Linked DNA regions of Homo sapiens: all the other regions are linked to region 3. The links are contacts of gene promoters, found by promoter capture Hi-C in human tissues and cell types (Jung and others, 2019). All regions are on one chromosome and are shown on one strand. The core of a region is centred on a gene start or on the middle of the fragment in contact, and the rest is flanking DNA. Distances in the headings are between cores, read along the strand shown. Region 1 overlaps LOC105369710 (a long non-coding RNA gene). Region 2 overlaps CCDC91 (coiled-coil domain containing 91). Region 3 holds the start of PTHLH (parathyroid hormone like hormone).

Region 1 (2,814 bases), core at 180-2,679, 140 kb after region 3:
TGGATTTACTTATAAGATTTCTATTAAGAAAAGATTCAACAACTGCCATGAATTTGAAAGCCATTTGCTTAGGAAATGCTTTGCCATATAATCCTTAAGTAATTACCGTATAGCTTCCTTATTCTAACCTTTGCCTCCAACTAAATTCTTACCTCTTCAAGGCAGGCATTGTGTCATAATCAACTCTCCAGCTGGAGCAATGAGTCTGAAACAAGTACACAATAAAATTATTAAAATAATTGTATAATTGTATTTATATACACTGAAAATAAGCCAACCATTTTTAATACGGTTTCTAGGGATATTAGTTAGATTTAGACTGATTAAGAGTGGCCTGAAAAGAATAAGGAAATCACAATTGTAAAATAGATAATTCTCAAGGAACAATGATTTTAAAATGCTTTAGTGAACGCTGGAGAAAGGACACCCTATTCAATAAATAGTGCTGGGAAAATTGGATAGCCATATGTAGAAGAATGAAACTAGAGTCTTATCTCTCTCACCACATACAAAAAATTAACTTAAGAAGGATTAAAGACTTAAATGTAAGACTGGAAACTGTAAAAATTCTAGAAGAAAATCTAGTAAAAACTTGTGGACACTGGACTAGACAAAAAAATGTATGATGAAGACCCCAAAGCAATAGCAACAAAAAAAAAATAGACAAATGGGACCTAGTTAAACAAAAAAGTTACTGCACAGCAAAGGAAATAATCAACAGACTAAACAACCTACAGAATTGGAAAAAATATATTCAAACTATACATCTGACAAAGAACTAATAACACAAGGAACTCAACTCCACAAGAAAAAACACAAACAACCCCCGTTAAAAACTGGGCAAAGGACATGAACAGACATTTCTTGAAAGAGGAAATACAAGCAGCCAACAAACACATGAAAAAATGCTCAACATCACTAATCATCAGAGAAATGCAAATTAAAACCACAATGAGATATCATCTTCCACCAGTCAGAAAGGCTATTATTAAAAAGTCAAAAAGCAACAGATGTTGGCCTGGATGCAGAGAAAAAAGAACACTTATACACTGTTAGTGGGAATATAAATTAGTTAAATCTCTATGGAAAACAGTGATTTCTCAACGAACTAAAAATAGAACTATCATTGCACCTAGCAATCCCACGGTTGGGTATCTACCCAAAGGAAAATGAATCACATGTAAAACAGACACCTGCACTCATGTTCATCACAGCACTGTCCACAAGAGCAAAGTTATGGAATCAACTTAAGTATCCATCAATGGTTGACTGGATAAAGAAAATGTGGTACCTAATACACCATGAAATACTACTCAGCAATAAAAAATAATGAAATCATATCCTTTGCAGCAACAAGAATGGAGCTAGAGGCCGTTATCCTAAGTGAACACAGAAACAGAAAACCAAATACTGCATATTTTCACTTGTAATTGTGAACTAAACAGTGAGTACACATGGACATAATGATGGAAATAATAGACACTGGGGACTCTGAAAGAGAGGAGGATGGGAGGTGGCCAAGGATTGAAAAACTACCTATTGGGTACAATGTTCACTATTTGGGTGATGGGTGCACTACAAGCCCAATCCCCACCAGTATGCAATATACCCATGTAACAAACGTGTGTGTACTCCTTGAATCTAAAAGAAAATAAAATTTAAAAAATAAAAAGCTTTAATGAATGCCTGGAATGGCTCCATGGCACTGTCTTAAAGTGGCATTTCATGTTCTGAAGCAGTTGATGACTCTAACGGCAGTGATATATTGTCTCTGTGGGTGAGGGTGAAAAAATAGTTTTGGGATGTGTATTTATCTGTACATGTGCAGTCTGAGTGCAAATGTGTTGTTATCAGACTCTTTTGTGGTATTCCTGTGACCTGGGCCAAGTTACTATGTACAAAAACAAACCACATTGGTTTCCAGTTGCCCTCAAAAATCAGAGAAGGGTAAGAGAGAATTGGTGCAGCTGTGGCAACAACCTTATTACAACCTTTTTGTGAGAGAATAAGGGTATCTAATGAAAAAATACCTGGGAAGTTTGAGTACAAAATAATTAGAAGCTATGAATATCTGGGTATGGGATTTTTCATTTAGTAGGAAATGTGTAGTTGGAAACTTTCCGTGTGTGCATTTGTTGATTAGTTATTTTTTCTTCAAAATCTGGGTATAAATTTAAATCTCTCATTTTTACTAGTTTAACTAGAATTATTGAGTTCTAGCTTTAATGTTACCTTGGGCCAATATGCTTTAATCATCTGGGGACCTAGCATTCAATCCTTTCCAGCACAGATTACTTGATGGAGAATATCTAAGTGTTCTTGGGAAGCATTAATCACACCCCCATGGCCTCCCATGAAAAATTTGCTAGAAGCCCAAACCAATATTTAGACTATTGACATTAATTCTGTCCCTCTCCCTTTCTAAGGTGGTGTAGTGTAACTTTTAAGATCAAGTTTTTATACAAGCAAAAACATTTTCAGATTTCCAATAATTTTATCTTTCATTTTATGCCAAAGATATAAATTTACATCCAGCATTTGCTACAATCACATGGCCCTCCACAGCTATGCAAGCAAGCAGCCAGCAGAAACAGGAAGTTTAATAAAACCCTATACTTCTATAAAATGTAGTGTGATGTGTCGTGAACTTGGACCTCCCCCTACAAAACTGATAAACATTTTCTTTTTAAAAGTTGCCTATTATCCTAAGTATATTTAATTCCTTAAGTGACTAAGGGAAAAGACACTTCCAATAGTTGCATTCTTTAGTATGAAAATATATGTGGTATTTTTTCATCATTAGCTGATGTGCTA
Region 2 (2,859 bases), core at 176-2,675, 220 kb after region 3:
GTTCTTCCTGGTGGGTTCGTGGTCTCGCTGGCTTCAGGAGTGAAGCTGCATACCTTCACTGTGAGTGTTACAGCTCATAAAGATAGTGCGGACCCAAAGAGTGAGCAGCAGCAAGATTTATTGCGAACAGTGAAAGAACAAAGCTTCCACAGCATGGAAGGGGACCCGAAGGGGTTGCTGCTGCTGGCTCGGGTGGCCTGCTTTTATTCCCTTATTTGGCCCCACTCACATCCTGCAGATTGGTCCATTTACAGAGAGCTGATTGGTCCATTTTACAGAGTGCTGATTGGTCCGTTTTACAGAGTGCTGATTGGTCCGTTTTGCCAGAGTGTTGATTGGTGCATTTACAAACCTTTAGCTAGACACAGAGCGCTGATTGGTGCATTTACAATCCTTTAGCTACACAGAAAAGTTCTCCAAGTCCCCTACCCGATTAGCTAGACACAGAGTGCTGATTGGTGCGTTTACAAACTGTTAGCTAGACACAGACTCTGATTGGTGCATTTACAATCCTTTAGCTAGATAGAAAAGTTCTCCAAGTCCCCACCTGACCCGGAAGTCCAGCCGGCTTCACCTCTCATTACTATCTTTTCTTCATTAAATTTCTTTGGCTTGCCTTGTTAAAAATCAGTTGAGTATGTTTGTGTGGTTTGCTTTGTGGACTCTATTTTGTTCCATTGTTCTGTGCGTCTGTTTGGCTAAAACCTCAGTCCTTATTATGGTAGCGTTATAGTGTATCTTGAAGTCAAAAAGCCTGAGTCCTCCAACTTTGTTGTTGTTTGCCAAAAATTTTTGAGTATTCGAGTTCTTTTTCTTTCCATGTACATTTTAGAATCTCTTTATTTCTATATAAAAGCATTGTGGAATTTTTAGTATGATTGCATTGAAGTTATGGATCCATTTGGGGAGAATTGACATCTTAAAAATGTTGTTTTCTAATCCATTAATAAAATACCTTTCCTGTCCCACTGCTATGGCTCATGCTTGTAATCCCAGCACTTTGGGAGGTCAAGGTGGGAGGATCGCTTGAGCCCAGGAGTTCAAGAGCAGCTTGGACAACATGGCAAAACCGCATCTCTACAAAAATGAGAAAAATTAGCTGGGTGTGTTGCCATGCACCTGTAGTCCCTGATACTTGGAAGGCTGAGGTGGGAGGATTGATTGAGCCTGGGAGGTAGAGGCTGCAGTGAGTTGTGATCATGCCACTGCACTCTAGCCTCTGCAACAGAGAGAGCCTCTTTCAAGAGAGAAAACAAAATGAAACAACCTTTCTACGTTTATTTGGTCTTTGATTTCTCTCTGTTTTTAAGCTTTCCGCATAAAAATGTTGCGCATATTTTGTTATGTTTGTATCTAAATGTTTTATGTTGTTTGGTTCTGTTGTAAACAGTAACCTTTAAAAATTTTTAAATTTCCAATTACTTATGTAAGTGAATCAGTATTTTAATATTGATCTTGAATTTTTGAATTTTACAACCTTGTTAAACTCACGAGTTCGTTCTAGTAGCTTTTGTAGCTACTGCTGTCTGCTGGTAGAGACAGCTTTATTTCACATTTTCTCATTTGTTTGCCTTTTATTTTGTTTTCTTGTCTCTTTGCACTGGCTAGGACCTTTGCTAATGTTAACTAGAACAAGTCAGATCAGCACAGATATCCTTGCATTGCTCTTCATCTTAGTAGAGAAGGTATACAGTCTTTTACCATTGAGTAGTTAGCTGTAAGTTTTTTGTGGATATCATTTTGACCCAGCCAAGGAAGTTCTCTTTAACTCCTGCTTAGAGCTTTAAAATTTAATCACAAGTGAATGTTATATTGCTTTTTTTGATTGTGAACATGATAGTTGATTACAGTAGAAAGTTGGAAATAAAGGAAGACTATAAAAAAAGTTACCCTATTTTCAGTAATCTGAGGTAACTGCTGCAAACATTGTGGTGGCTTTTCTTTCAGTCTTTTCTTTTGCAAATATATTTTAAAAACAAAATTGTTAATATTGTTTTATATTTTGCCCTTTTCACTCAGAATCACATTGGGAGTACTTGCATCATGAATTATTTTGAAAACTTGATTTGTAATGGTTATGGGTTATTGTGTTATATGGATATGCCCATCATTTAATGATTTTCTTATTGTTAAATAGTAAAATTGTATTTCAGTTTTCCCTGTTGAAATTAACATTAAATATTTGTGCTTAACTCTGATAATTTTTCAAAGTAATTTATAAAAATATGATTATCACTCAAAGTATATACATTTTTTTTTCAGGTTCTTATATCCACTGCCTCTGTTTGGTGCTCTTGAAATTTGTTCTTTAGGCTATTTATTGTAAGAAATTTGGGGTCAGTATCATTGGCTTTTTGGGCATCACCTTAAGGTAGAATCTTTGAATTTCAGAAACAGAGTTCCTTAGAAATCGGTCTAGTTCAAACCGTTTTTTAAGCGGTTTAGAGTCTGTAATCATTAAATAACTTTTCTGCCTATACTATTTTGTTTCCACTGATCTATACAGAATTACTGATGAATTACGTATAATGTAATATACCACCTGTGCTCTTCTTTTGATAAGAATTATAGAAATCTTTGTGCCTAGCTTCATGTAAAACCCTTTATGTATGTTGTTTTATTGAATTCCAACTGCTACTTTTTGGTAGTAACATTTTTTTCCATTTCATAGACAAAGGAAACTGTCTCCAAGTGAGCAAACTTACCTAAGGTTGTATTAATAGTAAGTGGTAGAGCTTGAGTTTGTTCACAAGTCTTCCTGAATCTGTGCTTTTATTTGTAGGCTATACTATGAGTATTATGTTATTTTAGGTATTTTGTATATATTATGTTTATTTTGAATATATTAATTTTAATGCT
Region 3 (3,151 bases), core at 607-3,106:
ATGAACTGAGTGGGGAGCATCGGCTAGAGAGAGGGAGATCTTTTGCTTAGAAGAACAAAAACAGTTCCAGATTTCATATCTAAATTGCACTTTTTGCTGTTTCAGAACTGCTGGGAGACATCTGGAGCCGGTCCCAAAAAACCCGCGCACAGGAGAGATCCCCCTTTTGAATTGCAGAGGGGGACCGACACTCCTGGAGCACGCACACGGCCCTTTTCACTCATGGTCGGGAGTCTAACCCATCCTTTCTCTGATACCCTACCTGCTTGTCCCCTCCCCCTCAAAAGTCCCAGGTTACAGATTCTTGGAAGACTGTATCCGAGTCGCTGCAGCCAGCGGACAGATGCAGTGGAACTATGGTTATGTGCTGCTCTGCCTGGGAGAAGCGACGGGAAAGCCGAGGTTCTTTCCAAAGCTAATGGGCGGGGAAGAAAGACTGCTCGGAATTACTGGGTAGTATCATCTAGGAAAGGATTGCAGCGGGAGTGGATACCCTCCCCAGGGCTCCTCTAACTTTTTGAAAAGAGCGCGAGTGGACTGGGAACCATTCAAGGGATATTTGTCTTCTAGGCAATCCTGCTGGTAGGGTTCATTAGTTTCTAGAAGGCTAGTGTGATTTAGATTCTTGAGATGATTCAAGGAATGTGGCCTTTATCAAGCCCGACTTTCCGGGTGATGCTCCACATATTTTACCCAGGGTGGGAGAAATAGCACGCTGTCACCGAGACCCTCGCTCATCGGGGCTCCCACTGGTTCACTGCAGCTAGCTAGCAGTTAAAGTTTACTGCTTAGGTTGGGTGGGGGGGCATATTTTCTTAGAAGCTCCTGCCTTCCTCAGTTCATTACTGTAAACCCCGTACCTTAAAAGACTCGGCTTCTTCTCACTAACAAAGAAAAAAAGCAAAACAAAACCAAAACACACACACGCACACACACACACTCTCTCTCTGGGAATTTCCACAACTTCCCTTGAATGTGTAAGGATTTCTAAATGTTAGACTTGTTTGGATAGTATGAAAGGACAAAGTATCAGCACTCAGAAATGTCAACCTTTGAACCTCGAACACTTTCTGATTTATAAAAAGAATCCTTCCAAAAAGATGCAGGAGCCCTAATGTAATCGTTAGATCTGAAGGGGGAAATCTGTAAAAAAAAAAAAAAAAAAAAAAAAAAAGTCAATCACAAATGAGCCATTTAATACTTGCAAGTTGTTTAACATTGAAATGATAATATTTGCTTCCACAATAAAAAGTCCAAGGTACCTAGCCAAGTTTCAAACTATCCAGGCTTTAAAAAGTCAACCCTTCTCCCAATAGAAGGTTAAAACAAAAATCAGATTGAAATTATCAAATCACTTATGTTGTAAATAAATTCACTTTACTTTCAGAACATTATAAATTAAGGACTGGCATCAATAGACTGCTTTGATTTATGTTGCTTTTTCTACTAATTAAACAAAATTAACCCCCCACTCCTTCCCTCCTTTCTTTTTCCCCACACACTTTTCTGGTGTTAATGGCAAAACATCTATCAAATATTTTTAGAATTTCCTCTCCTCCACAAAAAGAGAAAATATAGACACAGGAAAAATAAATAGTCTTTATATACTCGGAATACCAAAGTTCCCTCCTAATTTATTACTTCACCTTTTCCTTGATTTACAATCTTCTCTCTGCTCTTCTGGCTGAAAGAGGGAAATCTTCTCAGCAGTCTTTTCCAGAAATATTTTTTGTTGTTCTTCAGAAAACATAAAATTAAATCTTAAAATGAATTAAAAGCTTCTTGAAAGGAGACTTCTGTTCCCACTAAAGGCAATTATTAGAAAGCAGGTACCTCTTCCAAGCTGCCCTGTTTATTACTTTCCGTAGAAATTCTCCTCAATATATACCCAGGACCCTGACTTTTTGCCTGTTTTGGAAAGGATATTTTCTGACATCATAATCTAGTTCCTAACATAACTGAGTAATCTCCATCATAATAATGCAGAGGATGCATGACTGCAAATGAGACACAGCAAGAGCACCCCCTACCACCTCCCTCCCCCCCCCGTCCCCCCAGCCCACACACACACCTTTTTTCTAAGGTTTAGAAATAGAACAAGTGCCAATAGAAGCTAAATGTTTGCTTAGGCCTTGCTGTCATGTAAATGCACCTTAGCAAATGGGAAGGCCTGCCTCTAATCTGAAGTATTTCCATGTTTAGCATTATAAGATCTACACCTACACAAATGCCTAGCCCATGAGCACCAGGCTTCCATCTTCCCATCCCCAGTGGCAGTTTATTACAGTATATCAAATTTTAAAAGAGGTTGAAAAAATTTTAAATGCATTACTCTTAAATTCAGTTGAATACCCAGTTAATGTATATCTCCTGTCATAGCTTAGAAAAAAGTAAATAGCATTTATGCTTAGCCTCTTCATCCTTCTTTCTTCTTTCCTCCTTAACCCAAACAGCAAACAGATATACATTATAAACCAAATATGAATCTATAGCACTTTAAACAGTGCACCTGGGCTTGGGAATTCTCTTATTACCAATAAGCATCCAGATTTCACATTTACCAATCTGTAGCTGCAAGCTATGTCTCTAAAATCCCCTGGAACCAAACAACTAAACTCATCCCATCTCTTCTCCAAACTTTTTTCAATGTTTACAAAGAGACGTTGCATAATCAGCTCAAGTAATGCTCTCATTGGATTCCATTAGAATGTGGCTCTCATCGCTCGCCTGGACTGAGACTTGAGAGGAGGCTGTTGCCAGCTGACCTCAAGGTAGCAAAAAAGAAAAAAAGATGTAATGCCTTCAAACCCCAAGTAACAATAGGAAAGGGTGTGTTTCTTTATTAAATCTTTTTGTAGTTAGGTGAGGATAAGACTTCTCCAGGAACAGGGCGGGCTGCTAACCTCTGGAGGAACTGCCTCAGGGAGGAGTGTATAGATATGCATCAAGCTGATGGGATCCTCCCATGGGAAAAGTGGGCCTCACACCCTTCCTCACCCTTCCCTACTTCCTGGGCAATGTTCTGCTTCCCCCAAACTGAAGCAGGAGGCCCAGAGAGGAGGCGGTTTCCTGGGAGGAACCCAAACCAATGTGAGATGAGAAGGTCTTTAGGAAATGGGGGTCTCTGAGAACCGGTTCTTAAAGGTCAAGC

The links. The method cuts DNA at HindIII sites, captures the fragments that hold promoters and counts their contacts. A contact is called where the count stands out against the background at its distance.
Region 1: a contact is called between a fragment that was not itself captured here and the fragment with the promoter of PTHLH in region 3, in 2 of the 25 tissues and cell types used here (IMR-90 fibroblasts and adrenal gland).
Region 2: a contact is called between a fragment that was not itself captured here and the fragment with the promoter of PTHLH in region 3, in 1 of the 25 tissues and cell types used here (bladder).

What each region holds. Positions count from the first base shown.
Region 1 is chr12:28,106,954-28,109,767 of GRCh38, forward strand. LOC105369710 (a long non-coding RNA gene) reads right to left here. Exons shown (of 3, transcript XR_931461.3): 2 at 153-205. Among named protein-coding and RNA genes, the nearest start is that of CCDC91, 82 kb to the right of the region's middle. The HindIII fragment of the contact is 5,405 bases long and covers 1-2,814 here.
Region 2 is chr12:28,194,861-28,197,719 of GRCh38, forward strand. The region is part of intron 1 of CCDC91 (coiled-coil domain containing 91); the gene reads left to right. Among named protein-coding and RNA genes, the nearest start is that of CCDC91, 5.8 kb to the left of the region's middle. The HindIII fragment of the contact is 6,310 bases long and covers 1-2,859 here.
Region 3 is chr12:27,970,877-27,974,027 of GRCh38, forward strand. PTHLH (parathyroid hormone like hormone) reads right to left here and starts at 1,857. Exons shown (of 6, transcript NM_198965.2): 1 at 1,647-1,857; 2 at 1,051-1,143. The HindIII fragment of the contact is 6,422 bases long and covers 1-3,151 here.